Linked DNA regions of Homo sapiens: region 1 is linked to region 2. The links are contacts of gene promoters, found by promoter capture Hi-C in blood cells and fetal thymus (Javierre and others, 2016). All regions are on one chromosome and are shown on one strand. Each heading gives the region's core, a stretch centred on a gene start or on the middle of the fragment in contact. The rest is flanking DNA. Distances are from core to core; before and after follow the strand shown.

The links. The method cuts DNA at HindIII sites, captures the fragments that hold promoters and counts their contacts. A CHiCAGO score of 5 or more calls a contact.
Region 1: a fragment that was not itself captured here is called in contact with the fragment with the promoter of APLP2 in region 2 in 1 of 17 cell types (total B cells); the score reaches 6.7 in total B cells.

What each region holds. Positions count from the first base shown.
Region 1 is chr11:125,593,438-125,597,749 of GRCh38, reverse strand. It overlaps STT3A (STT3 oligosaccharyltransferase complex catalytic subunit A), which reads right to left. Exons shown (of 18, transcript NM_152713.5): 2 at 1,747-1,869; 3 at 631-691. The coding sequence starts at 1,834. Among named protein-coding and RNA genes, the nearest start is that of STT3A, 2.7 kb to the right of the region's middle. The HindIII fragment of the contact is 2,242 bases long and covers 1,780-4,021 here.
Region 2 is chr11:130,068,581-130,073,122 of GRCh38, reverse strand. It overlaps APLP2 (amyloid beta precursor like protein 2), which reads right to left and starts at 3,229. Exons shown (of 17, transcript NM_001142276.2): 1 at 3,041-3,229. The coding sequence starts at 3,145. It overlaps LOC107984432 (a long non-coding RNA gene), which reads left to right and starts at 3,474. Exons shown (of 2, transcript XR_001748444.2): 1 at 3,474-3,659; 2 at 4,010-4,542. RefSeq lists silencers at 2,341-2,800, 2,871-3,000, 3,391-3,620 and enhancers at 3,537-4,037, 4,038-4,538. The HindIII fragment of the contact is 4,769 bases long and covers 1,788-4,542 here.

The DNA of each region.
Region 1 (4,312 bases), core at 1,651-4,150, 4.5 Mb after region 2:
AAACTGATAACTTTGAGTTTTTTCATTGCCCTAGAATTTAACTAAGAAGCCCAATTTCTATCACATAAATTGCTAAACAAACAAACAAACAGCAAAATGTCATGAATCTCAAGTCCATTGTTTGTGATTCTCTTCTGAGCCTGGAATACACACCAGGACCCTTTCCTTCAATCTGCATCACAAACTTTTACCAAACTGGGCAGCCAGAATTCTCTTAGCCTAGCCAGATCTTAAGTGATAGGCAGACATACTAGCAATGCCTCTCACATTTTTTGAGTTTCAGAGACTTACTTGGTCAATTCCAACACATACTTTTTTTTTTTTTTTTGTAGAGATGGGGTTTCACCATGTTGCCCAGGCTGGTCTTGAACTCCTGAGCTCAAGTGATCCCTCCACCTCAGCCTCCCAAAGTGCTGGGATTACAGGTGTGAGCCACTGTGCTGGACTCCAACACATACGTCTTAAAAGGAGATAATTATCTCCTTTGGAAGAATTTAAGGGTTTTTTTTTCCCTTAAATGTACTGAAAGCACATCTCTATCACTGAGAGCTGACTGAAATTTGAATCTGAAACCCATGAACCTGAATGCCTCCCAAAGGAAATAATACCAGATCAAGCAAAGGTACTCACGGATCAAACTCATGGATAACACTTTCAAATCTCAGGACAGCAAACAGACGAGTGGAGAAGGCTGCAAAAACCAGAGAGTTAATATTTTATTGGTAATGTGCCATGAAAGAACAGCAGATATAGTATTATAATGAAGACAGTATTATCCAGTAGAGAGGTCACAGAAAATATAAAATAATCCCTGAATAAAGTCTTTATCCATCTTTCCCCACATAAAGGAAACAAGAGAAGTTTACTTTCCCCTGACAATGGCATCTACATTTTCCACTTTCATAGGTCACAGTTAACTAATTATAAAAGCCTATAACATTACATTCACCTACTAATACCAAACTCAACTTACATGGTCATCTTTTATATACGCTGACTCCCCCACCATACACACATAACTAACCTTAACCTTGGAGCAAAGTAATAGGTATGGCAAGCAAAATTACACCTAGGACTCATGAAGAGCCAGAAAATCTAAAATACAGAGTAAACTCTCAAGAGACTTTCAAAAATACTATAGGAGACATCTAAATTGAAGATAATTGTCTTTTACAAAAATCAGTTATCCAAGGGTCCCCAATATCACTTTCAACCCTATGAGAAAACAGAATTGGCACAGCATGCTTCCCATTCTTTCAAAGATGATCACAGCCCTCTTTTTTTTGAGACAGAGTCTTGCTCTGTTGCCCAGGCTAGAGTGCAGTGGTGCAATCTCGGCTTACTGCAACCTCTGCCTCCCAGGTTCGAGCGATTCTCGTGCCTCAGCCTCCCAAGTAGCTGGGAATACAGGCATCCACCACCACACTCAACTAGTTTTTGTATTTTTAGTAGAGACAGGGTTTCATCATGTTGGCCAGGCTGGTCTCAAACTCCCAGCCTCAAGTGATCCACCCACCCCAGCCTCCCAAAGTGCTGGGATTACAGGCGTGAACCACTGCATGTGGCCCATAGCCCTGACTTTTATATTCCTTTTATTTTGCCTTCATAAAATTATACTAATGAGGAATGGAAAAATGTAACAATCTGCTAAAAAGAACAAGGCATTTTAAGATAGCGATTTTCAATTTTTTTCTAGACTTTCTTCTTTCTATCCCCAAAGAAAGAGAGGTTCACATGCACACTCACATAATACAGCAGCCATTGACAGAATGAGAAGCTTCAAAAGTGTGTCCTGCTTCTCATAGGACAATCGCAAAAATCCAAACTTAGTCATCTTGACATGAATGGGTGGCAACACACGACGATCAGCTAAAATGAAAAAGTCAAGACCACAAGATATTGAACACCTTCAATTTACTTAATTTTCATATTTTATGATGAGAGGGAATCATAAAGGACGTAGGAGCTAGCAAAAACACCAGACAGGGTCAAGGCTAATACTAGTATCCAAGCCTGGCCTAAAGTATGATCAACTTGCAAGGAAGTAGGCACAAGTCAGGTCTATGTGTCAAGACTAAAATGGAGTGGTCAGAATAAACCATCCATAATTCTATTTCCCACTCCTTCACAGCTAACAAGTACATAAGCACAATTAGCAATAGTATAGCACAAGGAAGAGATGAAAAAATAAACAGGAAAGATTGGAAATACTGAAAAATAATAAAATGGAGAAAGAGAGCACTCAAGAAAAGGCAGGACTATATGGGGTGGCAGGGGCGGAGGGGGGGAAGCAGGAAATAAACATTGAGACCAGAAGTGCAAGCCCCAGCAATTTCAGAGGCTAAGGAGGGAGGATCGCTTGAAGCCAGGAGTTCAAGACCAATCTGAGCAATACAGCAAAACCCCATCTCCACAAAAAACTGTTTAAAATTATGCAGGCTTGGTGGTCTGCACCTGCAGTCCCAGCTACTCAGGAGGCTGAGGCAGGAGTTGGAGGCTGCAGTGAGCTAGGATCACACCACTGCACTCCAGCCTGGACAATAGAGCCAGACCTCCTCTCTTTAAAAAGGAAAAAAAAAAAAAAAGAAGAAGTGAAAGGCATTAAGAGGAAAAATAGAAGTCACGACTGAATCAACACAATTTCGAGCCCTAAATTTAAACTTCAACTGAATGGCTATAAACTTTTTTCTTTTCCAAATCCCAATGGGGCTGTCGGGTCAACTAACAGCATACCTGATAACTAATGCAGGTACAATCATGCACTCAAAAAGAGGTGGAGGTACCCAAACACAGATCCACTGTGTTCTCATCCCATATATCAGACTGTAACGACTGCTCAGATCTATACCCGCTTCCAATCATCTGTCTCAAGGCTTCTCTGTAACTGACAATGCTGATTTAAGAGACTGATTAAATTACACAGACAGTTTGATGGCATCAGATGATAATCTAGAGGGAAAGAAAACGAATTTTTCCTACTGAAGCAGAAGAGTCGGGGGATTAAAAAAAGTAGATTAAAATGTTGAGGGACACTATCTGTAGGCAGTTCAAAATGGAAATCACATGACAGATATGAATTATTTATATAGCAATATAGCACTAATCTACCATAGGTTAGTTATTCTTGTATAAGACAGTACTACTATCTTTTTTTTTTTTTTTTTTTTGAGACGGAGTCTTGCTCTGTCGCCAGGCTAGAGTGCAGTGGTGCCATCTCGGCTCACTGCAACCTCCATCCACCTCCTGGGTTCAAGCGATTCTTCTGCCTCAGCCTCATGAGAAGCTGGGACTACAGGTGTGCGCCACCACGCCCAGCTAATTTTTGTATTTTTAGTAGAGACGGGGTTTCACCATGTTGGCCAGGGTGGTCTGGATCTCTTGACCTCATGATCTGCCCACCTCAGCCTCCCAAAGTGCTGGGATTACAGGCGTGAGCTACCACGCCCAGACCTACTTTTTTAAATTACAAGGTGATCAAGAGCTAAGTTATAACGACTATAACAAAGGATATGCAACACCATTCAAGATGTTTTGCTTTTATTCTTTTTGACTGACACATAATTGTACATATTTATGGAGTACAGTGTGACATTTTGGTACATGTATATAATGTGTAATGATCAAGTCGGGAAATAATTAGTAGATTCATCACCTTATTTTTTTTGTCTTAGGAATATTCAAAATCCACTCTTCTAGCTATCTGAAAATATACAACAAATTGTGTATTTTTGTTGTTAATTATACTCCTAATAATAGTTATCCTATAGAACACTAGAATTTATTCCTATCTAGTTGTACTTGTGTATCCCTTAACAAACGTTTGTCTATCCTCCTCCATGAATCTTTTTTCCCACTATTATTGGAATAAAGGAGAAAAACAAAACAACAACAACACTGGACTAGGTGGAAGGCATATAGAATGCTAGCCCCAACACTGAGAAGTCAAGCATGTTCTCCATAATTAACTGTCCCAGAAGAGCAGTTTAGAAATGTGTTTAAGTATAGTCCCAAAGGGAAAGCTTACTTTGCAACTAAAAATAAAGGCCTAACTACTCCAGGAGGTCAACAATCCAGCCATATCTCTCAGGGTTTGCAGCTGTTTTCTGGAATGCCTGAAATAGGAACAAACTTAACACCACTGCGTTGATACGAGCCACACACCAAAATGAGACTGCTAGGATCTCTACTTGAAAACTTGAGTAAACGAGCTAGTCATTGAGGGCAGGGCCGTAAGGGAGATTTCATCTCGTGCTCTTTGGTCACTTTCGCACACCGCCAAGCAAATAAGAGCAAAGACACCTTTCTTAAAACA
Region 2 (4,542 bases), core at 1,980-4,479:
TTCATAGGAAATACTTGATCTACATTTAGATTTCATAAAATGTACAGTTTAAAAGTAAATTCGCATAACCAAATTATTTCAGTTAAAAGTTTTCCAACCACTGAATCAGATTTTAAATGTAAACTTAAATTAATTAAAATTAAATAAAATGAAAAATTCACTCCTCATTCACACTAGTCACCCTACAGACTCAATAACCACATGTGGCTTGTGGCTACACCCTGGGAAAGCCTGGCTTTAGATGGTAAAACAAATTCCCTCTACAAAAGGAGGAACTAATTGATAAAACTGAAGTTTATCGTATTTATCAAAAGATTTTTAAAACATAGTTATGATAAAAATAACGGGCCGGGCGCTGTGGCTCACGCCTGTAATCCCAGCACTTTGGGAGGCCGAGGCAGGTGGATCACCTGAGATCAGGTGTTCCAGACCAGCCTGGCCAACATGGTGAAACCCTGTCTCTACTAAAAATACAAAAATTAGCTGGGCGTGGTGGCAGGCGCCTGCAATCCCAGCTACTTGGGAGTCTGAGGCAGGAGAATCGCTTGAACTCGGAAGGCGGAAGTTGCAGTGAGCCCAGAGATCCCACCATTGCACTCCAGCCTGGGACAGAGCGAGACTCCGTATCAAAAAAAAAAAAAAAAAAAAGACGATATTCCTATCAGAAGCACACCAAGGTTTCTCTCCAAGGTACAATTACACATCTCCCATACCACCTGTCAGAAACACCAACACAAAGCCTTCTCTACTCTGCCTCAGTTGACATCCTTTAATTTGGGTTTGAGTTTCCAGAAAACTGGCAATCAAATGGCCTTCTTTCTTTCAAATGTGACAGAACAAACTCAAGTTCCGGTTCTCAGGAGCCTAGTCATCCACTGCACAGTATGCGGGGTTTCAGCACAATACTGTCTCAGTCCCAAATGGGAGCATGCACACAGGAGAACTTGTCTCGGATTTAAGAGAGGAAGTGACCCTGAGTCCAGAGGTGAGCTTTTTCTTTTTAAACAGGTGTAAGAGATTAATTCAGTCAACACCAAGCAACACTAAAGATTTGCCAATCAATAATTCTGTGCCAAGCAACTTGATCAGGGATTTGGCCAGAATCCCTTTCGCTAATCTCAATCAGGGCCTTCCCAAAGACATCCTGATTTAGGCCACTCTCATCTAAATTAAGCTTCGACAGTCCCTTGCCTGACAGCAAATAAACAAAATCAAATTATATTCATATGAATAAAATTCTGATAGCTTGACAAAAGGCCCCTTGAAAGATCATTTAGTAAGTGTGAGCAAAAATACAGCTCCAAAGAACAGGAGTTACCATAAAACCATTTTTCAGAAATGTTTAATTCCTACTTTCTTCAACCATACTTTTCAACTGAACAACGCTGTGGCTAACAATCAAATTTAACACACAACAATGAATTCTCATATTATTTTTTCCCGCTACACAAGTATTAACGAATTCTTTAAAACTGCTGAGTCTTCTACTGTGAATTCACTAATGCCTCAAATTAGTCATAGCAGTGGGAAGTGGAGTGCGAGTGTGAACGATGGTTTCTGACACCCGACCCACTAGTGAAGTCCCATCTTCCATACGAAAGCCTTTATTTTTTCTTCCCATCTCACTCACCTAGCTGTTTTCATGCGACATATCAGGGATCACAGATACAACTCTGACCATTGTGTGGACACACTGAAACAATCGCAATCCAAAATCCTCTGTAGATAAACGTTAACTATTTCTCTTTAAAGCTGAACTCCTTTCTTACCCTCACAGTCACAAAGCTTTAAACTGGATGAATACAAAGGTGTTAAGCCGTTCCATCAGAGAGGCTTTTTATTAGATTTATTTTTACCCGTGGAAATACTTGAACATTCTGTAGAAGTAAATATATTCTAAACCTGAGGTCTTTAAAAGAAAGCTCTCAATTAATGCCCAATCAAATCCAGTCTTCAGGTCTCTCTGAAATTAGCTAAGTATGCAGAAACCAGTTGTAATTTTTAAAAGAGCGAAGAGGGAGAAGAAATAAACGACACCAGAACTACACATTCCAGACCAGCAGTTCAAGCACCACTTCGAGAAGGGAAGTAAAGATCAAGCTCGCCGTCTCCCTCGGCCACAGCAGGGCTCCTCCAAGGCTGCCCGCTCCGGCCCGCACCGCGGACCCCGCCGCCCCCGCCCCCTCCCGCGGCCTCCCCAACCCCCGGCCCTGCCGCTTCGCCTTTCTCGCAGCGGGGATGCTCAGGGTGCGACCTCGAAGCACAACCACTGATGGAATTCTGACACCCGAAGAGGACGATTTTTCCAACAGTTTACACGCCTTCGCGGGCACCTTCCCTACTCACTGAAACCCTCACGAAAGCGGTCAACGCACCCAGAGCGGGTTTCCTCGGTCTACGGACGCAGGCAAACAGCGCCACTTAAAAAATGCGCGTCCGCGACCCGGCCCCAGGCGGCAGAGGGAGCAGCGGGCGGCCTGGCGCGGGAGCTCCCCCGGGGCTCGCAGCATCCCTGCCGCGCGCGAAGGCCGGGGCCGCGTCCACCTGGCAACAAAGGCGAAGCCCGCCGCTCGCAGGTGGGAGGCCCGGAGCCGAGGCCCCGGTGCCGCGCGAGGGAGCGTACGGGGTCCGCGCGGGGCCGCCCCTGGAGAAAGCCCAGCCGCGGACTCCGGCGGGAGAGGAGCGCCCTGGCATTGTCCCGGGGGAGGGCGGGGCGGGCGCCCGGGGGCACTGGGTCCCCGGAGGAGGTGGCGGCGCCGCGGGCGGGTTGGGGGCTGGGTCGGCCGAGGCGGACGGCCGCCCCCAGCAGCCCCGACGCCTTTCATTTGGCCTCTGCGGCGGCTGAGGCAGCCCGACCTCCAGCGCTAAGCACTGCGCCAAGCAGGGACGGGCGGGGGAGGGCGCGCCAGACCCGCCGCAGAGCCGGACCCCCGGCGCCGCACCGCCGGCCCGCCCTGCCGCGGACCCCGCTGCCCGCCCGCAGTCCGCGCTCCTCCGGCGGGCGAAGGAGACGACTCTCCGGCGTTCGCCCGGTCCCCACCTCGATGTAGCCGGCCAGCGCCAAGGCAGGCGCCGTGAGCCCCACCAGCAGCAGAAGCAGGAGCCTGCCCGTGGCTGCGGCGGCCGCGGTCCCGGTGGCCGCCATCCCTCGCCGGGTCGCTCTAGCGCGCGGCTCTCAAGCTCACACACTCGGACTCCTCGCTTAGCACACCGCGACCCAGAAGCATCTAAAGCCAGTTCGCCGCCGCCCCGGGGGTTTTACACCAACCGGAACTGACTTCATATTACCACGCCCTCCTTCTGCGGCTCCCAATGCCGGCCCGCAGAACCCCTCAAGACCCCGCCCCCTTGCGGTCCAGACCCAATCAGGAGATGGAAGAGCCTGCTCCTCCCGCCCGGTCCAACCGCGCGCCCCCCGCCCGGCCCCGCCCCCGGCCGCGGATGGCCCCGCCCCCGCTCCGGACCCTGTGGCCGCCAGGCGCGGGGGCGTGCGCGCGGCGGGTCTGGGGCCGCAACCCTGTGGGCGCGGGGCTGGCTCTGGCCTCCGCCCCCCGGCGCGGTTATCTGTCCCTGCTGCGCTGGTCCGTCAGCCTTCAGCCTCCCGATACGGGCACGCCCCGCTCCCCTGCCCCTGCTGGGCATTCTTCAGACTCCTTTGGGTACCGCCCTCTTTTTGATTCTGGAAATGGTTTTATTAAAAACAGGATGAATTAGGAGTCCGGGACGGTCTGCCAAGGGCCGTCCCCCGAGGCAGGGGGAGGACCGCAGGAGGCAGCCATCGTCCTCCCCCGAGCCCTACTCAGGGCGCGCCTCTCCCGCCCTGCTCCGCCCAGGCCTCTCCGCCGGGTCCTCGCCTCTGAGTCCGGCCGCGCTCCGCACCCTTGGCCTCCGGTCTTTAGGCCTCTTGCCGACCCTTCCTTCCCAGCAGTTGCCCAGGCAGGGATAGAGACCAGGGGTGCAAGAACCACGCCGGCCTCACAGCCCAGGCCCCCTTCCTCGTGTGTTTTAGGAAGAGATCACGCCGCTTCTTCGGTTGAGACGCACTAGCGGGAGACCTGCTACTCTGCCTTCCTGCTCCGCGGCATTGCCACTTCAGTAGAGAAAAACGTCCTGCTGCCCCATTTAGCAATTGGCACAGCCTCGCCACCGCCAGGGCTCCGCTGGCCTTGTTTCCTTTCAGTCGCCTGTGAGTTAGGTACTGCCTTCTGAGAGACCTGGACTAGTCCCTTCAGGTTCAACTAAATGCATAACACAACCCTACCCCCAGGACGCTGACAATAGAAAGGAAGAGACTGTCCGCGGAGTAGACGAGTGCGCCTGTAAGAACTCGGGATTTTCCAGCCTTATTCTGCACCACTCTCCCCTACATGCCCAGTTCCCTGTGGGTAAACTGGCTCTGCCCGATTCCTCCAAGACGACACCTTTCCATTTCACAGCCCTTCCTAACACTCTTCTGCGCCTGCAATGTCCTCTCCCCAACATCTGCCTGTTGGAAGCGTTTTCACTGTTCCTCGGCTCAGTCGGCTGAAATATCGCTTCTGA